Regions from separate parts of the Homo sapiens genome. Here regions 1, 3, 4, 5, 6 and 7 are each linked to region 2. Evidence: promoter capture Hi-C in 16 types of primary human blood cells and fetal thymus (Javierre and others, 2016). All regions are on one chromosome and are shown on one strand. Each heading gives the region's core, a stretch centred on a gene start or on the middle of the fragment in contact. The rest is flanking DNA. Distances are from core to core; before and after follow the strand shown. Region 1 overlaps PLPP3 (phospholipid phosphatase 3). Region 2 holds the start of USP24 (ubiquitin specific peptidase 24). Region 3 has its middle 8.2 kb from the start of PLPP3. Region 4 overlaps LOC124904185 (a long non-coding RNA gene). Region 5 overlaps LOC124904185 (a long non-coding RNA gene). Region 6 overlaps PLPP3 (phospholipid phosphatase 3). Region 7 overlaps NDC1 (NDC1 transmembrane nucleoporin).

Region 1 (3,907 bases), core at 711-3,210, 1.3 Mb before region 2:
CTTTTGAAGGTCATCTTCACAGAGGTAACAATTGAAGCTATTGAAGCAGCTGAGATCACAGCAGAAAGCCAGGAACACAATCCTAGGGAAGACCCACATTTATTGGGTAGAAGTCAGATGTGGAACCACTAGAAGAAGCAGACATACATTTAGAAATAGTAACAAAAGCATGGTGGTGTGATATTAAGGAAGCCTAGGAAATTCAAGGTAAAAAAAAAAAAAAAGAGTAAGAGGTTGCAGTAGGCAATGCTGCAGAAAGAACAGCCAGGAGATTCTTGCATGGACTGGCAGAGTTGGGCATTCAGGAGGCCCATGACTCTGAGTCCCTGACTTTTGGGAAAACAATGATGCTTTATGCCTCAGACTCTCTTCTTCATGAGACTTGTGGGCACAGGGCAGCCACTGCTAATTTCAACCATAAATAACTTCTGTAGCCCCTCTCTGGCCTCTTTGCTGTCTTTATTCTAGATATTGGAGTTCTGACTTACCCATAAAGCCCAGAAATTATACTGGTGTCTTTGGACAGATCTATGTCTTCATTACCTTTCCCAGACAGTGAGGCACTGATCTTCTGAAAAAGGCTGAAGATGATAACCAAGTGACAGAAGAATCAGAGAATAAATTTCCAATCAACTATTTCTAGTTACTAAAGACGCTGCACTTTATTGCAGTAGATGGAGCAGTCAGTGCCAGAGAAAATACAGCCATACATCTGTCTCCATCCTTAGAAACAGGACCCAGTACATTATATTTTTCCTTTCCTTTGGGACTGAGAACTAAAGTGAGAAATGTGATTCTCCCTTCACGATTCTCCATCATCAACAGTTTGTTGAATTAATCTTTTCTGGGCAAAAGAAGTTCATCAATTCATGTAACCGAGATGTAAAAGAACAACTTGACCCTCTGTGGCTAGCAGGAACTTAGAGGTGCAGGTGCCTTTCAAGATGGCAGGCCCTTACTGGGTGTTCTGTGAACATATGTCTCTCTGGAGACATACATACTACTGCCTAGTAGGACTTCTAAGAGAAAGCCAGCTCGATGCCATTGGGAACAGCACAGGAATTAGAAGGAGGAAGCCCCAGCTTCAGTGATGGTCTTCTTGCTGTCTCATTTTTATCAGAGTGATTCACTGCCCTCTCTGGCCTTCATCATACTCATTTATATAAGTGTTGGTAATAATTTAGTAATTCATATGGTGTTGTGAGAAGCAAACAGTATAGTGGATGTGAAAGTGCTTTGAAAGCTGTAAAGTACTAAGCCAATATTATTAAAGCAGATCAGAGTATAGGAAAGTTTGTCCTTCAGACTCAGCGGTGGAAGATGAGTTCTCAGTCTCTGAAAGAGATTGTTAGGCTGCTGTGCAAAAATATTACTTTTCTTGGGATAATTTACAAATAGAGTGGAATGTTAAAAATAACACAAAACAGTAGAGTAGGGTTGTCCCTTCTGCTTTGGGTTTAGACTTTGCTTCTGTCTTGATCTGCTGAAAAATACATACTAGATAAAATGATCAAAAGCAATGTCATCCATACATACATTTTCTGGTCCTACCCTGGAGGGGTGGTATTTCCAAACTCTTCATTTAGGTATGGTATCGTCCAAGGAGCTCTTGGAAGAGATACTCTCTACAAAACATGTTTTTTATTTGTTTGTTTGCTTTCCTCTTCAATGGAGGGAAGAAAAAAGTTAACTTTTGGAGGGCTCTCCTGCTAGGTGCCAGGCGATTGACATATCACCTTATCTAATTCCCTGGCAATCCTGCCACATAGATATTATTAACCTTATTTTATAGATGAGGACATCTAAGCCCAGAGAGGTAAAGTCACATGCCTAAGGTAATAGACAAGATTCAGACAGGTTTTTCTGGCTACAACGTTGTTGCTTCTTTCACCACCTCTTGCTCTATCTTTTCCCAAAAATCTATCCTAATTTTTCTTCATATTTCCTCTCCATAACAGTTAAATATTTGTAAATATGTGGGCAGTTGAGCTCTTTTTCACCAGAAAAGACAGGAAGAGGAGCTGTCTTGCAGTTGGAGCCAACCTCTCTCCAAACTGCAGCCCTTCTCAGGCAAGGACTGATCCCTTTCTGTCCCCTTGTAGCTTAATTGCAATGCTTTCCCATTTTATTAGTTTCCAGATTCTGTGCCAAGTGCTTTAAAAGGCAGGTAGGGGAGAATTCTCTGCTTGCCTGGCAGCCTGCCATCACCCCCAGAATCTGTTGCTTGCTGTTTCAGAAAGGGATCAACATTGAAGGCATTTTTCTCAGCAGTGAAATTTACATATCAGAACCTTGCTGACTGAGGCAGAAATGAGGGCTCTAGGGGCAGGAGTCTGGGAGTGGGGACAGAGTCTTTGTAGGAGGAGGGGGAGGGAAGAGCTTATTTTCTTACCCAGGAATAAAAACATTGTGAGTAATGAATAAAGTCCGAAAGCAGTAAATCTGGGACTCGAGAGTTAGGTGTGTAACGTGTCGGAGAACAATTTAAGCCTTCGCCTCGTCTGTAGAGGTGAGGTATTCAGGCTGCCTTTCACAACCCAAATTTCATTAAATAGACTTTTAAGGGTTAGGATTACAAGAAGCCAAGTCCGCCTGGTTCATAATGATGATTTATGGCTGTGTTGTCGACTCCCTGACCCTTCTGTACAAGGGGATAGAGAAAATACATAATTTGTTGCTCATTCACTCTAAAATCTGTCAAGGCTGCCCCAGAAGCCATGTGGTCCTGGAGTCATGTGTCTGCTAAATGGCTTCAGCCTGGCCCTCTCCTTAAAAATCTGCAATTGCTCTTCTGCAGTGGAAATTGGTTTTAATAACAATAGAAATGATAAAATTATCTCAGTGTAGTCTGCTGTGGGTCTTTGAGCTTAAGAGTCAGAATACCTGGGCTCTACTCTTAACTCTGTCACTTACTGGCCTCAAATCCTTCAGAAAAGTCACTGTCTCCCAGAGCCTTAGTATCTCCATCTGTAGAATGGAATATCTTCTTCACAGAGAAGATTCAATGAAACTACAGTACAAAATAAATGTAAGAGATGGCTGCTGTTAACATTATTATTAGGAATTTGAGGTACTGCAAAATGTTCTTTTCATCTCCTTGTTTTCCCTTGAGTGAAGGAAACATTTTACTTTGCAATTTACTATCTTAAGACTGTGACACTAAAAATGGAAGTTTTAGAGATGGGACATTAGAGCTGAAAAGAATCCCTGAATTGTAATCAAACCCCGTCTCCCTAAAGTAACTGGAGCAGAAAGGTGACTCATCTGAGATTAATCAGTAAATTCATAAAAGAGATGCTAATTTGCATTGGAAACTCACATGTTCTTTCTCAGCATCAAACAGGAAATCGTGTTGACTGATCCTCAGGCCACACCTGCTTAGAAACAGTTCCTTAATCTGTAGCAGTGTCTGGTTCAGGGAACCAGAGAGCAATCTGAGGTCAGGGATTTTATCTGGGGCCTTGGTTCTGCTCCCTGCTTCTGGTGTCATCTCTGAGCAAGTAACTTTCCTCTGCCATTGCTTATTACCTGTGCTTGGTTGGCAGGCTAGTGGTGGATGGTGGACGTAGCCCAGGAAAGTTGAGAATAAATGTCATTGCAGTTATGAAGTCATAAATCAGAGTCTAGCACCCTCGTTTTGCAAATGCAGAAACCAATTTATCCCAAATTCACTAAACAAGTAGGGACTTGAACCTCGGCTACTTGACTCCTAGTTCAGTGCTCTTCCTCCTGCATAAAAAATCTCATATGACTTATAAATAAGGAAGAATAAAAAAGATTAAGAGAACATGATTGTGGTAATAAACATCTGGAACTTGTTTGCCTGTGAGGTTACATAGGGTAAATGTATAAACAGGTTCAAAAGGGGAATTAGATCATGAATGGTAGGAAAGAATGCTGGGCAGGG
Region 2 (3,449 bases), core at 618-3,117:
TGTGACCCAAACCAATTATAGGCATTCCTTCTTGTCATTGTTGTTCAGAAGTGTGAGGTTTCCTTTTGTTACTTTTAATTAAAAAATTGAGACTTTATTTGCTTTGGATATGAGGCCTAGGCTTTATAATGTCGCCTTTAATGGAAACAACAAATACAGTAACTTCATTTAAAAGTAAACAATAGTGACAAATTCACCCTGTAAATCAAATTGCTGGTATTTATAAACACAGGTGGCAAGTTACTAGGTACGAAGGGTTCGTGGTCCAGGGGAAAATATGCCAGCAGAGTGCAGAGACAATGTCTAGGTACCGGCCCTAATTTAATATTTGGTGTATGTAAAGATCTTCGTGAGTGCTGGGCTGGCAACAGCAGGGGTTTGATGGGATGAAAAAGTAAGGTTAGCTGGATTTCAGGTTCAGGAAGAAACCAGGATGAGGACATTAGAAGATGAACTCAGCAAGTATGTAGGAATAGGCATAGGAGATGAACTCAGCAAGAATGAAGGGATATCCGAATCTTGGGAAAGGGTGGGAAAATAACCTAGAGAACTATGGATTGAAGGAAATTGAAGAGGAAAAATAGCAAGGACTTAGGCCCAGGACGGCTTTGAATGCGGCTCAGCACAAATTCGTAAACTTCTTAAAACATGATGAGATTTTTTAAAAGTTTCATCAGCTACCATTAGCGTTAGAATATTTTATATGTGGTCCAAGACAATTTTTCTCCTTCCAATGTAGCCCAGGGAAGCCAAAAGATTGGACACCCTTGGCTTAGATGGTGGAGTCAAGGGAACTAAAGATATGACCCCAGTGTGCCAATGCCAAAGGTGAGAAGAGAAAGCAAAGAAAGCAGGCCTTTAAAGAGGTAGAGGAATCCTCAAAGGTGGAAAGAAACAGGGATAGGATGCTGCCCAAGAGGCAGGGACAAAGAATCGGAGCCAAAGACTGCGGTAAAAATGTGGGAAGGTGATGTCCACGATGTTCGAACGAGTCCGTGGCCGAAGGAAGTAAGAGTCTGGGTTTCTGGAGGTTTTCATACAGAGAACTGGGATTTAGATTTCGGGCTGGAAAAATATATTTTGGACTCTCAGGGGCTTTCAGGGTAAGAGTTCGGTAGAGTTCAGTCAGCTTGGCGGAGACAGGTAGTCAGTTAATGTTGGAAGGAAAATTCGGACAGCTGGGAATTAATTTCAACGGGTTTAGGGTGATTTCGGCAAGGGCTGGCGGGGCTAGGGTCGAGTGTGAATTTCGTCTTGGGTGGTCCACGCGTCTGGTTTGGGCAGGAATTTCTGTGGGCAGCGAGGCGTATTCAGGCAGCGTTGCGGGTGAATCTGCGTGGGATGAGGGTGGATTTCCTTCAGGACTGCGGTGCATTTCAGGCCGGGGTGGAGGTGCCTCACAGCCGCGGCGCAGGGAATTCCCTCTAGGATGGGGGAGCGGGTCGGGCGGCGCCGGCCAGGGAGGGGAAGTCCAACGGGGGTTCGGAGAGGCTCGGGGGACTCGGACGGAGAGAAGCCGGGTCGCGGCTGCGGAGGCTCGGCCGGCCAAGGGATTTCCGCGACGTTCAGCGCTGCGAGCTGCGCGGCGCTGCGGCCCCTCCCGTCCCGGGGGAACCTGTTGCCGGCGAAACAGGCGGGCGGTGGCGACGATGGAGAAGCCTTCCTCGCCTCTGCCTGGCTGCACGGCAGCCCTTTCACCTTAGGCACGCTCCGCGGCGCGGCCCCTCCCTCCGCTCCTTCGTTTAAAACAAACAGAATACGCCGCCGCCAACCCTAGCCTGCCAACGGCGAGCACGGTCGCCTCCCGTGCCGCTTCCGGGAGCCGAGGCGCGGCCCCGCCGCCCGGGGAGGAGGAGGCGGAGGGGGAGGAGGCCAACATGGCGGCGCGCAGGGCTGGGCCGGGCCGCAGCCGCGCCTGAGCGCCTCACCGCACTAGCTCGGCTCGCAGGACCCAAGCCCGCACCCAGCCTGGCCCGGCTGCTGCGGAGCACCCGGGGCAGGAACGCAGGGGCCAACCTGGGCGCGGAGGCGGCGCGGAGGGTGCGCCGCGCGGCCCGCCAGGCCCGGGACCCGTAGCTTCGCCGTGCGCTGGCCGGGGCGGCCAGGAGGCCCAAGCCATGGAATCGGAGGAGGAGCAGCACATGACCACGCTGCTGTGCATGGGCTTCTCAGACCCCGCCACCATCCGCAAGGCCCTGCGCCTGGCCAAGAACGACATTAACGAGGCCGTGGCACTGCTCACCAACGAGCGGCCGGGCCTCGACTACGGCGGCTACGAGCCCATGGACAGCGGCGGTGGCCCCAGCCCCGGGCCCGGCGGGGGCCCGCGGGGCGACGGCGGAGGTGACGGCGGCGGCGGCGGCCCCTCCCGCGGCGGGAGCACCGGAGGCGGGGGCGGCTTCGACCCCCCGCCCGCCTACCACGAGGTGGTGGACGCGGAGGTGAGGAGGGGCAACCCCAGACCTCTGTGGGAAGCCACTGGGCTGGAGTTCCTGGGAGGGGACACACCCCGCTGGGCTTGGTGTGGGGAGAGAGGGCATTCGACTGGGGCTTTAGTGGGGGCGGGGCGGAGAGAGAGAGAGAAGCCCCAGGCTCCAGTTGGGAACCGAAGTCACTTGATTGGGGGTAAGTGGGGAGAGGGACCCATAGGAGAGGCGTGTGAAAGGGAATTAGGGATGCGCAGCGGAGCTGTGGGTTGGGGTGAGGAGGGGTCCCTTAGGCTTCCGGCTATGCACGCCGACGATGGGGAGGAGGCTCCAGGGCTATCATCCGAGATGGGAGGACAGACACTTGAGCATATAGTGGGAAGGATGCGTGCAGTAGGGGGTCGGAAATGGGGTACTAGTGCACTAGGCTAGGTCGGAGATTTTGTGGCACGAGGTTTCAGTGAAGGATTGGCGGAGGCACCAGGCTCAGAGTCAGAAAAAGCGGTGTGGGCCGGCCAGAGTAGTGGTCTTTGACAGGATCACAGGAAAACTGTTGGGGTTAGGAGTGAGGTTGGGGTTTTAGCCAAGGGTCGGAAAGGGGGGGCATTGAGTAGGATTTAAAATGAAGAGGGAAGGGGCCGCGGCCAGGAATGAGGACTTGAATAAAATCAGGTATGAGAGCAGTGGGGATTGCACTGAGAGGGCAGAGGTGGGAGGCCTGGGCAGGGGTGGGAGCTGAGGAGGGTCTAGGCAGGGATGGGGACTGGAATTGGAAGATAGAGCTGGCACCAGGTCTGGGTAAAGAGGGAGTACTGGTCATCGATAAGGTCAGAAATGAGAGAAAATTAGACCGGGGAAAGAGATGGTAGTCATACTGAGGGTGCTATGCAGAGGGGCGCGGAACAGGGTGGGAGCGCAGTGGGGGTGGAGGAGGAGTCTTGAGGCTAATGGCTTTGATCAGAGACCTCAAGTCTAGGTGGAGAAGACTATGCCTGTTTAGTTTGGGGTGTGAGCAAGGAACGT
Region 3 (3,613 bases), core at 1,068-3,567, 1.4 Mb before region 2:
ACATATTAATCTCACACTGTTTTTACATATCTGTTTAACCATGTAATCATCATTCAAATCAAACATTCAGAAGGCTTCTTCCCACTTAACAATCCCTTCCCCAAAGGTGACCACATAGTATGCACTCCTGTGTAAATTTCTTTTTTTTTTTTTGACATATGTCTGAAAGATGCATCCAAGCCCTTTTGTGTAGCAGTGGTTTACTTTTTTCAGTACTGCATAGTATTTCACTGCGTATCACTGTATGATATATATTTATTCTAATTTCTGTTGTTTCCATTTGTGAGTTATCATGAATAAAGCTGCTATGAACCTTATTGTACAAGTCTTTTGGTAGACAAATGTCATCATTTTTGATGGCCGTATCCCTAGAAGTGGAATTACTGGGCCATCGAATAGACATAGGTTTGGTTTTAGTAGATTTTACCCAAGAGTTTTCCAAAGTAGCTATACCAATTATCTCTCCAGTTGGTCCATATCTTCACCATTTGATATTGTCAAGCTTCCAAACGTTAGCCATTCTGATGGGTATATATTGGTGTGGAGTGGTATTTCATTGTGGTTTTAATTTGCATTTCCCTAATGACTAATGATGTTGAGCACTTTGTCATATGTGTATCGGTCACTTGTATATCCTCTTTTGTTAACTGCCTATTCAAGAATTTTGCCCCCCCCTTTTTTTTAAAAAAAAAAAAAGACCACATCTTTGCTTGTCTGTCTTTTTCTTATCGGTTTGTAGGAGTTCTTTTACATACTCTGAATATACATCCTTTTAGTGAATATCCTTTTTGGCCATGTATTGTTCCAATCTGCGGCTTACCTTTTCATTTTCTTAATTTTATGTTTTAGGGGTCAAACTTTTTTTGTAAAGAGCCAAATAATAAATATTTTAGGTTTTGCAGGTCATGTGGTCTCTTTTGCAACTAGTCAGCTATGCCATTTAGTGCAAAAGCAGCTACACACAATACGTTTACTGAATAAGCAAAAACTTTATCATTCTTCTTTTGATTGTTTTTCGGCCATGTAAAAATTTAATAATTATTCTTAGCTCACATATTGTACAAAAACACTTGACAGGCTGGATTAAGTTTATAGTCTGATATGGTTGGGCTATGTCCCCACCTAAATCTTATTTTGAATTGTAATTCCCATAACCCCCATGTGTCATGGGAGGTACCAGGTGGAGATAACTGAATCGTGGAAGCGGTTTCCTCCATCCTGTTCTCGTGATAGTGAGTTAGTTCTCACAAGATCTGATAGTTTTATAAGGAGCTTCACCACCCCCTCCACTTGCTCTGCACTTCTCCTTGCTGCCACCATGTGAAGAAGGACGTGTTTGCTTCCCCTTAAGCCATGATTAGAAGTTTCCTGAGGCCTCCCCAGCCCTGTGGAACTGTGAGTCAATTAAACCTCTTTCCTTTATAAATTACTCAGTCTTGGGTATATCCTTATAGCAGCGGGAGAACAGACTAATACACAGTCCATAGTTTGGCAGCTCTGGTGTATTTTATAAATACAAATTATGAATTTTAATGAATTTCAGTTTATCCGTTTCTTCTTTTGTCATCAATGCTTTTTTATTACTATTTAAGAAATGTTTGCCTATCCCAAAATCATGAATATATTATCCTTCATCTTATTCTAGAAGTTTCATTTTATTATTCATGTTTATGTCTATGATCCATCTGGGATTAGGTGTTATGAATGATGTAAAATACAGGTTTCACACATGTGCTTCTATGTACTTAAGTTATTATACATCTTTTTCAATTTTATTATGCAACTATGACTTATCTGTTCGTTGAAGCTTTCCCTGATACCCTTACCTTGTGCTTGTAACTTTCCTCTAGTCATTCTTTCAACAACTACTTTTTGAAGCCTTATTATTATGTACCATGTTAGGAACATGGTATGGTTTGTGTCTGAAGATATGTGTATTTACTTGCTCATTTAATCATTCATCAAATTTCATGATTTCATCAAATTTCATGAAGAAAATTATAGTTTTTTGAAGAAAACAATTTAAACTTTACAATGAAATATGATAATATTGCAAGTATTGGTTCACATGTTTTTCTTTTTTTTTTTGAGACAGAGTCTTGCACTATCCCTGGGCTGGAGTGCAGTGGCGTGATCTCGGCTCACTGCAACCTCTGCCTCCTGGGTTCAAGTGATTCTCCTGCCTCAGCCTCCCAAGTAGCTGGGATTACAGGCGCCTGCCACCACACCCAACTAATTTTTTGTATTTTTAGTAGAGACAGGGTTTCACCATGTTGGCCATGCTGGTCTCAAACTCCTGACGTCATGATTCGCCCACCCGCTTTGGCCTCCCAAAGTGCTGGGATTACAGGTGTGAGCCACCACACCTGGCCCTGTTCACATGTTTTTCTAAAAATTAGTCATTTGAAGAAAGAAGCCATAAGCATTAATTTGATTATCTCCAGCACCTAGCATAAATCCTAGCATAGAAAAGGTGATCATGAAATTTGATGAATGATTAAATGAGCAAGTAAATACACATATATATTGAATAAATATACACATATGTATACAGTGAGTGTATATATATACATATATTTGAATTCGGTGAATAAATGCATAAATGTTTATATATATATGTGCACATCATGCACACAAACAACCTTCTGCTCTTTTCTCCCAGATGCACACAATTAAAGTACCACTTCAGAAACCACTAATCTTTCTCCTGTGTGCCTTAGACTAGGCTTCCCCAACCCCCAGGCCACAGATCAGTAGTGGTGCGTGGCCTGTTAGGAACTGGGCTGCATAGCAGGAGGTGAGCCACCAGCCAGCGAACAAAGCTTCATCTGTATTTACAGCTGCTCCCCATAGCTCGCATTACTGCCTGAGCTCTGCCTCCTGTCAGATCATCGATGGCATCAGATCCTCATAAGAGCACAAACCCTACTGTGAACTGCGCTTGCAAGGAGGAGAATCTAATGCCTGATGATCTGTCACTGTCTCCCATCACTCCCAAATGGGACCATCTAGTCACAGGAAAACAAACTCAGGGGTCCCACTGATTCTACATTATGGTGAGCTGTATAATTATTTCATTATATATTACAATGTAATAATAATAGAAATAAAGTGCACAATAAATGTAATGTGCTTGAATTATCCTGAAACCATCCCCCCACTCCCCTCCCCGGTCCACGGAAAAATTACCTTCCAAAAAACCAGTCCCTGATGCCAAAAAGGTTGGGGGCTGCTGCCTTACACAGACAAAGTTTATTCATTACAGATTAATTATTAACATCTTAGCCTTTTCACAAGATGGCGCTGAAGATGAAGAAGGAAGCTCCTGCCCCCACCGAAGCTGATGCCAAAACAAAGGCTTTGGCCACAAAAAAAAAAAGATCCATATGGCACCCTCTTTCTGGTGGCCCAAGGCACTGTGGTTGTGGAAGCAGCCCAAATATCCTTGGATGAGCACCCCCAGGAGAAACAAGCTTACTCACTCTGCCTCATCAGTTCCACTGACCACTGAGTCTGCTATGAAGAAGATAGAAAACAACATGACAATCGAGATGGATTGATGGATAACAGAATGATAGATATGTGATAAAACAAGTAGAATAAAGTATTAATG
Region 4 (3,783 bases), core at 909-3,408, 1.2 Mb before region 2:
TCTTATTTTGTAAAAGAAAGTACTGCACTATGGGTTATTTTGATTATTGAATATGCACCTGGCATATACGAGGACGATGACCAATTAGTGACTGTCCTTTCTTTTTGGGAGTTTCATTTTATTAGTCCTTTTCTTTCTGGGGGTTAGTCTAGTGTAGCCTCTACTATGACTCATGGCCCCAGAGCTGAATGTTTTCAAGGGGTTCATGAAGCCCCAACTCTTGCTGATATGGGAGCATGGAAAAGGATGACGAAATTGGGGGTGATGACCTGGGAGTAGGCTTGCTACAGGCAGGTGGGTAGAAAATATTGCTCAGCTTCTAAGCAAGCCGAGAATCACTTCAGGACAGCCCCAAATTGCCACACTTATCCTGCTCTGCTTGAGAGAGGTGGCCATATGAGCTATTTCAGGGACTTTCCAAGGAATTCTGGAAGCTTCTTGCCAGTCCCTCTCTCAATCTTTCCTTGGGGAATGAGGCTAATTCTTTTTATATCTTCTGAGATATGTTTTCTCTGAAAGACAATTCAAGGGCCAGCAACTTGAACACTATTTTATAATTCAGTTAGGAGCCATGTTGTCTCTCCAACATGGGGAGACTGTACTAATGGGCCTATGCTATATCAGGTTTATAAACCTGGGAGATGCTTACGTCCTTTTCATGATACAGAATGGGAAACTGAGGTCAAGTGTCATGGTTGGGAAGAGACCCAGACTGTGGGACTCATCACTAAAGAGTCAGCGTGAAGGAGTAGGAAATGTAAACCAGCCTGGGCTATAGCCTGGTTTTGCTATTTATTACCTGAGTGATCCTGGGCAAAAACTCCAATACCCTGGACCTCAGTTTTCTTACCTGTGAAATAAGCGTAATGATACCTTCCTCCCAGGAGTAGCAGAAAGCATAGAAAAGATAATGGAAAGAGAAGCCCCTAGCATATACTTGGCATAAAATAAGTTCCCCTTTCCTCCTGCCTCTCCTTCCTTCCTGAAATAAAGAGGGGCTTTGGAATCAGACTGGCCTGGGTTCAAATCCTGTGTGAACTTGAGAAAAGAATTAACTTTTATGGGTCTTGGTTTTCTCATTTGTGAAATGGCAACAAGAACAACCACGTTGAGGGTCTTTGAGGAATCAGAGATGACATAAGAGCCCTCCTAGACAACGCTGCTCTCCTTCCTTCCACTATCCTCCGGGATTCCTTCTGCAGCCTCACAGGCTAGGGTTCCCTACTCTGAGTAAGGGAACAGGGAAATGTGTCTGCAAGTCTCTAGCCTCTCTGGGCAGGTACAGTGTACCCAGCTCAGGGCTCATCAGCAGAGCTGGTGGTGCTGGGGACAGAACACTCCCTTCCAGCCCTCAGGCCACTTCAGGACACAGATCCCTCAGGGGGTGTCAAACCCAAAAGGATCACTGCAACAGTTTCCAGAGGGGTTGTTGGAGACTTGGACACATAAATAACCCCTATGAGACAGCCCCTTGGCATGCCTTCCTTGTGGGGAGTAAACATTACGTTATTCAGAGAGACACTTAGGTTTCAAACCACTTCATATTTAATCAGCAATCATGCTCCCTTCCAAAAGCCATGCCAGGAAAAACATCAGTTTAGTTTTTGACAAGAAACAAGGCATTCTGAAAACTTGTGCACATAGCCCGAGCCTCAAGGGACAAACTCATGGCTCTGTTTGGAGTCAGAGGTGGTGTTTCGACCTGGGACACTGTGGCCAAAATGATGCACTTCCGTCTGGTGTTTGCAGTCGTCCTGAGGAGCAGTGGTGGATTGCTGGAGAACAGAAGGAGGAACCAAGGCTGCAGGCAGAAGAGACTTGCACTGGAATCCCACCTGTGCCTTTCATTAGAGCTGTGCCCTTCAGCAAGATGTTTAACCCCTTGGAGTTTCATGGTCTTTACTGTAAACTAGGAATAACTATGTCTGCTTGGAAGGTTGGGATGAGATCTAGCCAATGCATTCGGTTGAGCCATATGAAATTGCCATTTTTAAAGGTCAAAAATGATAGACTATTGGCAATTGGCAATTTCGTATGCTTCCAGCTACTAGATAAGGTGCCTGGCATATGTGAACAGTCTCTTAACTGTGCTAAGCATTTTACATAATCTAAAACTTTAGTAGGCTTAAGAAATGGGGGCTGAGGCCGGGTGTGGTGGCTCACGCCTGTAATCCCAGCACTTTGGGAGGCCGAGGCAGGTGGATCACCTGAGGTCAGGAGTTTGAGACAAGCCTGGCCAACATGGCAAAACCCTGTCTCTACTAAAAATACAAAAATTAGCCAGGCGTGGTGGCAGGTGCCTGTAATCCCAGCCACTCAGGAGGCTGAGGCAGGAGAACTGCTTGAACCTGGGAGGCGGAGGTGGCAGTGAGCAGAGATTGCGCCACTGCACTCCAGCTTGGGTAACAAGAGTGAGACTCTGTCTCAAAAAAAAAAAAAAAAAAAAAAAAAAAAAAAAGAAGTGGGGGTAGTGAGGTATGGGTAAAAAATCTGATTTAGAAGATCTTTGGGGGAGCCTAAAATCTGCATTTTAACAAACTTGTTATTACTCCTCCAGGTGATTTTTTTTTTTTTTTTGAGACAGGGTCTCGCTCTATCACCCAGGCTGAAGCACAGTAGTGTAGTCATAGCTCACTGCAGCCTCCAACTGCACTCCAGGTGATTTTGATGAGGTGATGCTTAGTGCTCAGTTGATCAAGGCTTTGAATGAATAAAGACCTGAAAAGAAGGGAATAGATAGAATAGTAAATTGCAAATCCCTCTCGCAACTCACTGTCTAGGTCTGTTTGTTTGTTTTCTTTTTTTGGTTCAGATGAGTGTAGCAAGATTAGCGTGTGTGTGTGTGTGTGCGCGTGTGTGTGTGTGTGTGTGTGACTGAGAGAGAAAGGGAGAGAGTTCACGCATGCACTCACAAGAGGGCACTTGGAAGTCCCTCTGATGGCATTTAAGCCACCTAACTCTAATATCTGGGACTTCTCTTCCCCTTTGAATTACCTTAGTCTTTGGATCATTCTGAGGTAGAGGTTGGTCAATATGTGTTATACCCTCAGTAGCTGTCTTCAATATTCTAATATTTAGAACAGTTTCAACTATTTCAAAATGTCCTTAAAAGTTGGAGGAAGAGGTATTAGCCAAGAGGTATTAGCCAATAGGGAAATGTAAATATCAGATCTGGAAGCAAGTTGTGAGCCTGATCCAAGCTCTGCACATCTCAGGTGAGGAAGACATGAGCCAGGAAGGTGATGGCACCTCCCAAGGTTATGCAATGTGAGTTGGGGCAGAGGTGGAGGTGGAACTCAGGTGGAGCTTTGCTCTCGTGGGAGCCTGTAACTAACCTTACCTTAGTCTCCTTATCGCTGTATGGACTTCACAAATCCTGGCCAGCGGGGTCTGAGTTTCCCCAATGTGTACCTACCTGACTTCTTTCAAATGCTCCTTCCTGTTGCAATTTATACTGTACACATATCTTCCAGGTAAAACAGTCCTATTAATTCTTCTATTTATTCAATAAGTATAAATCAAGTACACTGAGGATGCAGTGGTGAGCAAATCAGGCATTATTCTTACCCTCATGAATTCTACGGGCTTCATCTTCCCAATAGGTATAATTATGAGTGCTCTAAGGTAAATGCAATGGAACTTATGTATAATGGCGAGACCTGCTCTAGTTGAGGCTTTGTAGAGGTTGCCTGTTCTTTACCTTATGATGGGTACCTGGTGATGAGTCCAGCCTCCAAAATATTTTTGCAAAGTTTTTTGAATCCATAGTAATCCCAGGCGCCA
Region 5 (3,832 bases), core at 93-2,592, 1.3 Mb before region 2:
AGAGGTGCTTGGTAATCTGTGCTGACTACGTATGTACACGTGTTACTGCAGATAAATTGGTGAGGGGAGGACATATCTGGAGAAGTTATCCATTCCCACCTTCACATTTTATAGATGAGGAAACTGAAGCCACCTGGAGATTAACTTCCTTTGAGCAAGGATCCTCTGTTAAACTTCTTTGTATTCATTACAGTACTTGTTAAGAACAGAGGAAGAAAGAAAGCATGGAAGCAAGGGAAAAGAAAAGAAGGAATAGAAAGAGAGAGGAAGGAAGAAAGGAAAAAGGTGGGAAACTAACAATTATTAAGCACTAAAAGTAACAGTTTTAATTAAATGCTTTTTCATTTCCTCTTGATAACACACGTGTGAAATAAATGTTATTATCGCATCTTTTGAAGGATGAAAATTGAGGTTCAGGAGGTGAAGTCACTTGTCCAAGTTCACACAGTGCATAGGAAGCAGAATGAGAAACTGGAACAAGTTCTGGGAAGTGGAAGCAAGCTCTTCTTGAATCATGAGTCAGTCACTGGCACGGTCAAGTGTGATGATTAATGAACTGAATAGAAAGCTAAATAATCCTTTTTTAAAAAAAAAGTTTTATTTTATAGATTCAGGGGTACATGTGCAGGTTTGTTATATGGATATATTGTGTAGTGGTAGGGTTTGGACTTTTAGGGTGCCTGTCACCCAAACAGTGAACATTGTACCCAACAGGTAATTTTTCAACCCTCTCTTCCTCTGACGCTTCCCCCTTTTGGAGCCCTTAGTTCTGTTATTACTCTCTAGATGTTCATGTGTACTGATTCTTTAGCTCCCACTTGTAAGTGAGAACATGCAGTATTTGGTTTTCTGTTTCTGAGTTATTTCTTTTAAGATAATTGCCTCTAGCTCCATCCATGTTGCTGCAAAAGACATGATTTCATTCTTTTTAATTGGTGGTGTAGTATTCCATGGCGTATATGTACCATATACATCTATTTTTGAGACAGAGCCTTGCTCTGTCACCCAGGGTAGAGTGCAGTGGTGTGAACTCAGCTAGCTCACTGCAGCCCTCCACCACCTGAGTTCAAGTGATTCTCCTGCCTCAGCCTCCCGACTAGCTGGGATTACAGGTGTGCACTACCAGGCCTGGTTAATTTTTGTATTTTTAGTAGAGATGGGATTTCACCATGTTGGCCAGGCTGGTCTCAAACTCCTGGCCTCAAGTGATCCACCCACATCAACCTCTCAAAGTGCTGGGATTATAGGTGTGAGCCACCGCACCCAGCCATATTTTCTTTATCAGTTCAGCTGCTGATGGACACTTAGGTTGATTCCATGACTTTGCTGTTGAGAATAGTGCTGCAATAGACATACAAATACAGGTACAAGTACTGGGTAGATACCCAGTAGTGGGGTTGTTGGGTCAAATGATAATTTTATTTTTAGTTCTTTGAGAAATCTCCATACTGTTTTTCCTAGATGTTGTACTAGTTTACTAATTTCTTCCCCACCAACAGTGTATAAACATTCCCTTTTTTCCACATCCACACCAACATCTGTTGTTTTTTGACTTTTTAATCATAGCCATTCTGACTGGTGTAAGGAATACATTTTCACAACAATAATCGCCAAGTTATATGACCTCAAGAAAGGTAGTCGCTGTCTCTGAGCCTCAGTTTCCTCTTCTGTAGTGAAAAATGGACTCTGAGTGCCGAGGTCTCTCTCAGCTCTCGGGTGCTGGGATTCAGTCTAACTCTCCCTGAATTCCTCAGCCATCATGTGAGCCATTTAAAAATGATAGATTCTTCCAGGAGGAGCGATGTCTCTTTAACTAGAATCGTCAAGGTCAGGCCAAGCAAACTTATTTGGGGTTTTTGATGGGATCGCTCTTAATTGATTGGGGTGAAGAGTTCAGAGCTAAGTTGGAGGATTGGCTTTTCAGCTCGGTGCTGGCAGAGACTGGGGCTTGACATGATTTGAGGTTGTCTAATGACAGCAATGCTCTTAAACAGCTGACGGGAGAGGCTTTCGTCCAGAACTCAGCAACGCTTTCCACTCCTTGGAGAATAAGAAGGGAGCTGCTGAACAATGAATAAATATGCTGTCTTGGTCACCAGTGAAGCCATGTCAAATTTCTGGGGCTTTCCTATCTTTTACTCAACTTACTGCCTGAAGGATTTTCGGTGTTCCTTGTGTGGATACGTGTGCATTGTTCCTTTGTTTGCTTTTCTTTCTTTCTTTTTTTTTTTTTTTGAGATGGAGTCTCTCTCTGTCGCCCAGGCTGGAGTGCAGTGGCGCGATCTCAGCTCACTGCAAGCTCCACCCCCTGGGTTCATGCCATTCTCCTGCCTCACCCTCCTGAGTAGCTGGGACAACAGGCGCCCGCCACCACGCCCGGCTAATTTTTTGTATTTTTAGTAGAGACGGGGTTTCACCATGTTAGCCAAGGTGGCCTCGATCTCCTGACCTCGTGATCTGCCTGCCTCAGCCTCCGATCTTTTTTTTTTAAAGATTTTTAAAAAAAATTCTAGGTCTGAAAACATTTCGGATCATATGAAATTTGATTTACTTTGCTCTCCAGAGTCTATGAGTGGTTTTTATCTCTTCTGATATTTGTATTTTCTTTCTCCTTATTACTCATTTAACTAAAATTTATTAATAATAGTAAGAGTTAAAATTGGGAGAACTTAACCTATCAATGGATACCAGGCACCATTGTTTCAGATATGAGGAGGTACTATATTGTTTCAATCAATAAACATTCATTGAACACCCAACAATTTCTAGACATTATTCTAGACAAGAGGCGTTCAGCAATGACGAAGGCAAAGTCTCTTTCTTCATGGGGTTTAGACTGTGGTGGGGAACACAGACAATAAGCAAGTAAACAAATATTTGGTATATTTTCAGGTTACCTAAATACATCTTCAGTGCAAAACAACCTTAACACGGCAGGTATTATAAATTCATTTTTACATATGCAGAAATACCAATGTGCAGATAATGAACTCACCTGCCCAAAGGGAGATGAGAGATTGGATTTAAATCCAGTCTTTCTAGTACATATTGAGGCTGTTGAAGCTTTTTATTGTGACACATCTTTACTGAGCCCAGAGACAGATAAAGTATGAAGCTCCGAGGCTTGAACTCCAGGGCGCTTCACTTGCATGGGACCTTTCTAAATTCACCTTATACCTAATTTTTAATCTTTTTCCCAATGAGGGCCTACCGCATTTTGTAAGCCTGGGGTAGGGAGGATGGGTCTCACAAAATCTAGATGGACCCTCACTGAGCTACAGATTCAAAGGCGTTCCAGGTTCCCTCAGAAGCCAGTGGAAGAGACAGATGTGAAAACAAATAATCTTTTTTCTTTCTTTTTTTTTTTTTTTGTGAGATGGAGTCTTGCTTTGTCACCCAGGCTGGAGTGCAATGGCACGATCTCGGCTCACTGCAGCCTCCACTTCCCAGGTTCAAGTGATTCTTGTGCCTCAGCTTCCCAAGCAGCTGGGATTACAGGTGCCCACCACTGTGCCTGGCTAATTTTTGTATTTTTAGTAGAGACGTGGTTTCGTCATGCTGGCCAGGCTGGTCTCCAACTCCTGATCTCAGGTGATCCGCCTGCCTCGGCCTCCCAAACTGCTGGGATTACAAGCGTGAGCCACTGAGCCCAGCTGAAAACAAATAAACTGAATACATAAAAATAAAAGCTATAATAGAAGTGTTACAGGCTTAATCATTCCCTTGCCCCACTTCATATGCTGAAACCCTAACTCTTAATGGGACTGCATTTGGAGATAAGGCTGTTAGAGAGATAGTTAAGGTTAAATGAGGTCACATTTAACTTTAATTA
Region 6 (3,876 bases), core at 735-3,234, 1.4 Mb before region 2:
GAAGAATCCCAAGAAAACACCAAGCAGAGTGGACACAAATGTTTTCCATTAGCTGAAGAAAAGCAGTGGCAGGTTTCCTGACCCTTTCTGGGAAAGTCAAAGTGCAGGAACCTCAATAGGCTTTGGTGGTTGCATTCTTCCCCTTTGAAAGGGACAAAGCCATATTATCTTGAGAGAAAGACAGATATGCCTTAGGAAGGGTGGGAGAGAATTTAGACACGTGGTCTGTTTTAGGGTCAACTCTCACTTGGGTCATTCCTGTCATTCAACAGCCCAGAGGAAAACCAAACTAAAAGAACAGCAAGGCCAGGCGTGGTGGCTCACGCCTGTAATCCTAGCACTTTGGGAGGCTGAGGCAGGTGGATCACCTGAGGTCAGAATTTCGAGACTAGCCTGGTCAACATGGTGAAACCCCGTCTCTACTAAAAATACAAAAATTAGCCGGGCATCGTGGTGTGTGCCTGTAATCCCAGCTACTCCGGAGGCTGAGGCAGGAGAATTGCTGGAACCCAGTTGGCAGAGGCTGCAGTGAGCCAAGATCACGCCACTGCACTCCAGGCTGGGTGATAGAGCGAGACTCTGTCTCAAAAAAAAAAAAAAAAAAAAAAAACCAGAAATGATTGGAAATGATCGAAACGCTGGTCATCTAGGGGACCCTCTGTATTTGCTGAGGAAGGAAGGTACTGAGCTAGGCTACCATATTTATTATACAGGCCAATCATGTGGTATAGAGACGATCCCTTTTATAGAAGAGGGAACTGTAGCTCAGAGATGTTAAGTAACTTGCACAAGGGCACCCAGCTAGAAAGCAGTCACCAACTTTTCCAGAGCTCTTGTCAGGTTACCTTGCTGCCCCACTTTTCAATTTGCAATTAATTGATTGCAATTAATGCAATCAAAGCAGTCTTTTTCATTTCTTTCCATTTTGTTTATTTTGGTCTTAAGGATATTATTGGGCAGTGGAGTAGACAGAGTAATATGTAAATAATTGCAAAACAGCTTAAAGCTTGATGAATAAGCTTCTCTGTAGACATAATAAAGAGAATACCATTGGAGCAATTCCTCATTGCCTAGATTCATGGAATCTTTAGAATTTGGAAGTACCTTGGAGATTTCATTATCAACGATACCAAGGTCATTTTTTAATGTCAGTTAGAAAAATAGGCCTTTTTGAGCTGGGGAAGGGAGAGAGGTGTGAGGGGAATAGCACGGGCTTTGGAGTCAGACTGGAGTCTGCTCACTATTATTGGCCATAGAAGCTTAAGCAAGTTTACTTGATCTCTGTGATGCCTCATAAATCCTCATTTACGAAATGAGATTCTGTGTGCACTGTGACGTGGTGGGGACATGCCTAGTACAGTGCCTGGTGCATAGAGACACTCAAGAGGTAGTTGCTGCAGTCATTATCATCACCACATCCTAGTCAATGCCCTTGGTTCACAAATGGGAACTAGAGGTCTTGGTTGGTTAGTAATTGTCCAGTGACAGTGAAAGAGGAGGACCTAGAACCAAGGTCTTGCCTTTCTACCATTCTGCTTTTCGGATGTGGACTTGTTGGTTTGAAATTTGATATTATTCATGAGGAGAGTTCCCTGGAGAGCTTTCTCTCTTGCGTGCGTCAGTAGAAAAAGGAACAAGACAAACAGGTTTAACTTTTAATCCATATCAGTGGATGTTAGCTGAGTGAAGCCAAAGATACATGGGACAAATGTGAAGGACTAGGCAGTGTTTTGAAATATTACTTTTCTTCAAACTGGTATTTTTTCAGGAAAGTACTTATTACCAAGATCACTGCTGAATGATTTGAGCTGGAACAGGTGCCACCTTTTTCAAATGATGTATCTCAGGGGAGAAAAAAGAGACTCCATGTTTTCAAAGTTTTTGCTTTTTATTATTTATTTATTTATTTTTGCTTTTTAAAAGCCTCTCAACAAACTCTCCTTATTCCCATGTGACTGAGGATGAAACAGTCTCAGATTAAACAGACTTCTCAAGGTCACGCATTGTCAGTGCCAACATTCAAAAGAAGGCTAGGTCAGGTTCTTGAACATCCTTGTGAAATTATTCTTCCCTTAAGTCTGGGTTAAATTATAAATTATGATCTGCATTTAAATTCCCAAATTTAAAACAAACCAAACAAAACAACGCACTTCAGACTCTTTTGGAAACCTTTGAAAGGAACTTGATTTCTGTGTGATTTGAAAGTATATATTGCAATCAAGGTATTGGTGGTAAGTGTGTTTTTGAGGTTTGTCACAAATTAACAAAATTATATGCCTAAAGAGTTTTGCAGAGAAATGCAAATCATTATAAGCGCCTTGTCATAATAAGTAGTGTGCTTTGGTTCCTGTTTATGTATCCCTAAAACACATAATACACTATTACATTGACACGAAGGAAACCATTCTCATTGATGGTTTCTTTATATCTGGCCCCCAAATTAGTTTGTGGTATCAATCAGTATAATTTCTAGAGAGCCTATTAAGCCTATGTTTGTACCTGTCTTTCAGGTATAAGCCTTGTCTTCTGCAGATGATTCTTGAGCACCTACTATATGCCAGGCCCCAGGGTTTCCATGGCCTTAAGGAATTCCCAGGCTGGTGAAAGTGGAACAGGCTTTTGCCTAATGACAAACACTATATAAGTGATGACTTTGGAGCCTTAAGGGAGGGCCTACTCTAGCAGCACAGTGAAGAGTGATGAAGCTTGCCTGAGGGTGTGGAGCTGGGTCTTGCAAGATAAATAATAGCTCACAAGCCAGGAAGGGGGAGAAGGTATTGCAGCAGAGTGAAGCACAGGTGCTGAGACTTGGAAGCAGGGACCTATTTGGGAAGAGTGAGTAGCTGGAGGCTGGAATGTCAATATTGTGTGTTTGCACTGTGCGGGGGAAGAAAGGAGGACATTGGAGATGAGGCTGGAGAGATAGGTTAGAGCTAGATTATGAAAGGGGACTGGGTATGGCAGGCAGCTAAGGAATTTGAGTTTTATTTTGGTGAACGAGGAGAGCAAATGAAGTTTTCTTTTTGTTTTTCTTTTTATTTTTATCTTGGAAGATTTCATAGAGAAACCTACTACCTAGGAGTGAAATTGCTGGGTCCTATGGTAACTCCACATTTACCTTTTTGAGGAACTGCCAAACTGTTTTTCATAGTGGCTGCACCATTTTAGAAATATCTAAAGGCGGCTGGGTGCAGTGGCTCACACCTGTAATCCCAGCACTTTGGGAGGATGAGGCAGGCAGATCACGAGGTCAGGAGTTTGAGACCAGCCTGGCCAACATAGTGAAACCCCGTCTCTAACAAAAATACAAAAAATTAGCCAGGTGTGGTGGCAGGCGCCTGTAATCCCAGCTAATCAGGAGGCTGAGGCAGGAGAATCACTTGAACCTGGGAGGCAGAGGTTGCAGTGAGCTGAGAGAGCCATTGCACTCCAGCCCGGGTGACAGTGTGAGACTACATCTCAAAAAAACAAAAACAAAAAACTAAAGGCTAGTTACAGTATGTAAGAAAAATACAATAGTTTTATAAAAGACCTTTGGAATGAACATATTCATGAAAAGATTGGAGGAGGGAATTAATTTAATCTTATTTGGGTTTGGGAGAGATGACTGGATTTGAGGGTAGGCAAATGGGAGGCAGAGGAGCTAAAGACCAGTGGGGTGGCAAGTGCAAGCTGAACCGAGGGTACTGTGGTGGGAGCAGAGAGGGCTGGATAAGAAAGACATGACAGGGCCGGGCGCGGTGGCTCACGCCTGTAATCCCAGCACTTGGGGAGGCCGAGTGGGGTGGATCACAAGGTCAGGAGTTCAAGACCAGCCTGGCCAAGATGGTGAAACCCCATCTCTACTAAAAATACAAAAAAATTAGCCAGGCATGG
Region 7 (3,776 bases), core at 550-3,049, 1.4 Mb after region 2:
AAAATCACAACATCAAAAAGAATGTGGGATAGGAGTTCAACTTTATTCTTTTTTTTTTTTTTTTTTGTTAGACAGAGTCTTGCTCTGTTGCCCGGGCTGGAATGATGCCTGGCTAATTTTTAAAAAATTTTTTATAGAGACAGGGTTTTACCATGTTGGCCAGGCTGGTCTCAAACTCCTGGCCTCAAGTGATCCGCCCACCCTGGCCTCCCAAAGTGCTGGGATACAGATGTGAGCCACCACGCCCGGCCTCAGCTTTTTGGTGGACTGCCTCCTAACTGCATTGTCTCTGGTTTGGTTCGTGTCCCAACTCCTCCATCTTCCTTAAAGCCAGCTTTCAGTAAACAGACATGTTTTACCTTGAGCAACATGAATTTGATTGTCACTTTCATGCTTAAAACCCCTCTATATCTTCTTGTATTATTCAGCAGTAAATATTTTCCTCCTATATGATAGATACGGGCAATTCAAACATGAATAGAATGCTACAGTGCCGTAGTTGCCCAGTAAAGGTTCATATCTGATGATTATAAATACAGTTACAGTATACAGGTGGTTCCCATAAAATGTGTACAGCCTTTATATATTAATATAGCTATCAATTAAGCCTAGAGAGACAAGTATTAGTTGCTCTAAAACAGCTGTAAATCAATGCCCACCACCCCTCATACAAAGTATGATATTTGATGTTGCACCTAACTTTGTACTAATGCAGGCATCAGCTCACTGATACTATAAATTCTTTAGTGGTACGTAATGTTATTACTAGTAGTGAATGTTTGAGTTACGGATTATGATCTGAGTTAGTGGTTAACATCCTGTATGAAAAGATAGGATTTGCATAACTGAAATAATTTAACTGACTTCATGAGTGAGGGTTTTTCTTTTTGTTTATAGGTTTTGGGCTGGAGGATAGTTGCAAGTATTGTTTGGTCAGTGCTATTTCTACCCATCTGCACCACAGTATTTATAATTTTCAGCAGGATTGATTTGTTTCATCCTATACAGTGGCTGTCTGGTAGGTGATACTCAACTTGGGGAGAAAGTTATAGGACCTACTTCTCAACATAAAAATTGCATTATGTTTCAAGCAGTTTATTTTCAATTACTGCCTATGTTATATTGACACATCAAAACATTCACTTTGAGATAATTTTAAGATGTCTCCTTCGTAACATAAATCACCTTTTTATTATGTAATAAGATTAATAAGCTTGTCAAAGACTGTGATCATAGGAACGAAAAGATCATTAGAAGACCCCATAAATGAAAACTTAGTTTCATTTGTTTTTCCTTTGGGCAGCTTTATTGAGATTGTTTGTCTCTTTAAAATACAGAATGGTTCCTGTCATCGATTCGAAATTGTGGGTAGAAAATATGACATGTACCTCTTTTAAAAATACGTCTAAAATTAAGAGCACTTGATTTCTTTTTTTGAAACAGAGTCTTGCTCTGTCACCCAGGCTGAGTGCAGTGGCTCAGTCTTGGCTCACTGCAACCTCTGCTTCCCATCTTCAAGCAATTCTTGTGCCTCAGCACGCGCCACCACGCCCGGCTGATTTTTGTATTTTTAGTAGATACGGGGTTTTGCCACGTTACCCAGGCTGGTCTTGAGCTCCTGACTTCAAGCAATCCACCTGCCTCAGCCTCCCGAAGTGCTGGGATTACAGGTGTGAGCCACCGCACCTGGCCTAAAATGTTCCTTAAATTCCTTAGAGACTAAGTAAAATTACTAAATGTATTAAAATTAACTTGTTTTCTGTTAATAACTACCCATTATTGCCTGTTTACCGTGTGCCAGCTCCTTACATATATTACTTCTTATCCTTCCTGTAACTCTGTGTAGTTAAGAGGTACTTTCTACTTTATAAATGGGATAACTGAGATTCAGGTTAAATAATCCATGCAGAGACACCCAGCTAGTGAGTAACTGATTTAGGATTGAAAATTGGTCTTTCTTTTGCCTTGTAAAGTGGGAAGTTGAGTTTTTAATTTCGTTTTTCACAAGAAAATGCCAGTTTTCAAGGAGTTGGACTCTTTACCCATGACCTTTGGAGATATTGGTGTTAAGTTTCTTGTTGACGTACGTCCATCACTTTTTCGATAGGTCCCACTGGTCAGGTGAAATTAAGCCATAAGCCAGCACAGGCATAGCAAATATTTCTATAGCCACCTTACCTGTGTCTGCTTCACTCACTGATCATGGCTCTCTGGTGGCAACCTTAGAGTACTCAATCTTGTATTTGAGAGCCATTACCAATTGTTCACAATTGGCACTGGGGACAAAAACTTTTTGCCATTTCATGGCCAGAGGTTTTTTAATCCTCATCACACTTTCTCTGCAGGTTGGATTTGATTTATGCCATTTTCCTCATCAGAAGCTTGGGTTTAATTGTAGATGCTTAGTAAATATTCCTCATTAATTTAGGTCAATGGGCCGAGTGTGGTGGCTCACCCCTGTAATCCCAGCACTTTGGGAGGCTGAGGCGGGCGGATTGCCTGAGCTCAGGAGTTTATGACCAGCCTGGGTGTGGTGGCATGCACCTGTAGTCCCAGCTACTCGGGAGGCTGAGGCAGGAGAATTGCTTAAAGGGGGAGTGGGGGGTGGAGGCTGCAGTGAGCTGAGATCACGCCACTTCACTCCAGCCTGGGTGACAGAGTGAGACTCCATCTCAAAAAAAAAAAAAATTTAGGTCAATGAATTGTACTTTTAAAAATAAGTGGTTAATTTTTAAGTCTTAGCAAACATGCTCTTATTTTTATTTCATTCATATTTTTAGGCATTATATATATATATTTTAAACTTTGAGATGGAATATCGATTGTTGAACTACTCTAAAATGTGAATGTATTAGTATTTCATGGGGGCATCCTGATTTTTTTGTTTTTGAGTTCCGCTCGTTTAGATGATGTAATGTATGGCTTATTCTATTTCCAAAAATGTTACTTTAGCTATATGAGGTAATTGCATTTATGAAGAAGAGATCTGAAAAGTATTCTTTATATTTTAAGAAAAAACTTTGTTGGTATATTACTAAAGATGATACTTCTCTTTCACATGATTAAATATTTGCATATGCGTGGCTGGGTGTGATGGCTCATACCTGTAATCCCAGCATTTTGGGAGGCCGAGGTGGGTGAATTACTTGAGGTCAGGAGTTTGAGACCAGCCTTGACAACATAGTGAGAACCCAAAAAATAGCCATGGCGGGCATCTGTAATCCCAGCTACTGGAAGGCTGAGGCAGGAGAATTGCTTGAACCCAGGAGGCGGATTGCAGTGAGCCAAGATTGAGCCACTACACTCCAGCCTGGGCAACAGAGCAATACTCTGTCTTGAAAGAAAGAAAGACAGAGAAAAGAAAGAAAGAAAGTTTTGCCATGTTCTAGTGTTTTGTCTGATGTTAACTGGGTCATTTAAGAAATTGTAGTATAATTTTAAAGTACCTGGGGCCAGGTACGAATAACTCACACTGTAACTCCTTTTTTCTCCCCCCCTTTGTTTTTGAAACAAGGTCTTTCTCTGTTGCCTAGGCTGGAGTGCAGTGGCATGATCACTGCTCACTGCAGCCTCAAACTCCCAGGCTCAAGTGATCTTCCCACTTCAGCCTCCTGAGTAGCTGGAGACTGCAGGTGTGCACCACCACACCTGGCTATCTTTGTATTTTTGTAGAGATAGGGTTTTGTCATGTGCCCAGGATGGTCTTGAGCTCCCTGGCTTAGTGATCCCCCCATGCCCAGCCCACACTGTAGTTCTTGAGTTGATATCTCATTGAA

Evidence for each region. The method cuts DNA at HindIII sites, captures the fragments that hold promoters and counts their contacts. A CHiCAGO score of 5 or more calls a contact.
Region 1: a fragment that was not itself captured here is called in contact with the fragment with the promoter of USP24 in region 2 in 3 of 17 cell types (total B cells, M0 macrophages and monocytes); the score reaches 8.3 in total B cells.
Region 3: a contact is called between a fragment that was not itself captured here and the fragment with the promoter of USP24 in region 2, in 5 of 17 cell types (fetal thymus, total B cells, neutrophils and 2 more). The highest score is 12.6, in fetal thymus.
Region 4: a fragment that was not itself captured here is called in contact with the fragment with the promoter of USP24 in region 2 in 1 of 17 cell types (M2 macrophages); the score reaches 5.2 in M2 macrophages.
Region 5: a contact is called between a fragment that was not itself captured here and the fragment with the promoter of USP24 in region 2, in 4 of 17 cell types (M2 macrophages, M0 macrophages, M1 macrophages and 1 more). The highest score is 9.2, in M2 macrophages.
Region 6: a contact is called between a fragment that was not itself captured here and the fragment with the promoter of USP24 in region 2, in 2 of 17 cell types (total B cells and M1 macrophages). The highest score is 7.2, in total B cells.
Region 7: a contact is called between a fragment that was not itself captured here and the fragment with the promoter of USP24 in region 2, in 1 of 17 cell types (non-activated CD4 T cells). The highest score is 6.9, in non-activated CD4 T cells.

The regions. Positions count from the first base shown.
Region 1 is chr1:56,526,428-56,530,334 of GRCh38, reverse strand. All of the region lies in intron 2 of PLPP3 (phospholipid phosphatase 3), which reads left to right. Among named protein-coding and RNA genes, the nearest start is that of PLPP3, 51 kb to the left of the region's middle. The HindIII fragment of the contact is 6,480 bases long and covers 1-3,907 here.
Region 2 is chr1:55,213,782-55,217,230 of GRCh38, reverse strand. USP24 (ubiquitin specific peptidase 24) reads left to right here and starts at 1,867. Exons shown (of 68, transcript NM_015306.3): 1 at 1,867-2,441. The coding sequence starts at 2,118. LOC100507634 (a long non-coding RNA gene) reads right to left here and starts at 1,823. Exons shown (of 1, transcript NR_038320.1): 1 at 1-1,823. RefSeq lists silencers at 1,690-2,199, 2,270-2,459 and an enhancer at 2,920-2,979. The HindIII fragment of the contact is 9,819 bases long and covers 1-3,449 here.
Region 3 is chr1:56,585,927-56,589,539 of GRCh38, reverse strand. It overlaps the pseudogene RPL23AP85. Among named protein-coding and RNA genes, the nearest start is that of PLPP3, 8.2 kb to the right of the region's middle. The HindIII fragment of the contact is 1,015 bases long and covers 1,810-2,824 here.
Region 4 is chr1:56,444,555-56,448,337 of GRCh38, reverse strand. The region is part of intron 1 of LOC124904185 (a long non-coding RNA gene); the gene reads left to right. It overlaps LOC124904189 (a long non-coding RNA gene), which reads right to left. Exons shown (of 3, transcript XR_007066110.1): 2 at 3,701-3,783; 3 at 2,603-2,718. Among named protein-coding and RNA genes, the nearest start is that of LINC01767, 31 kb to the right of the region's middle. The HindIII fragment of the contact is 3,443 bases long and covers 437-3,783 here.
Region 5 is chr1:56,466,831-56,470,662 of GRCh38, reverse strand. The region is part of intron 1 of LOC124904185 (a long non-coding RNA gene); the gene reads left to right. Among named protein-coding and RNA genes, the nearest start is that of LINC01767, 54 kb to the right of the region's middle. The HindIII fragment of the contact is 3,446 bases long and covers 1-3,065 here.
Region 6 is chr1:56,568,778-56,572,653 of GRCh38, reverse strand. The region is part of intron 1 of PLPP3 (phospholipid phosphatase 3); the gene reads left to right. Among named protein-coding and RNA genes, the nearest start is that of PLPP3, 8.8 kb to the left of the region's middle. The HindIII fragment of the contact is 1,446 bases long and covers 1,262-2,707 here.
Region 7 is chr1:53,832,742-53,836,517 of GRCh38, reverse strand. It overlaps NDC1 (NDC1 transmembrane nucleoporin), which reads left to right. Exons shown (of 18, transcript NM_018087.5): 2 at 898-1,018. Among named protein-coding and RNA genes, the nearest start is that of NDC1, 3.7 kb to the left of the region's middle. The HindIII fragment of the contact is 1,168 bases long and covers 1,216-2,383 here.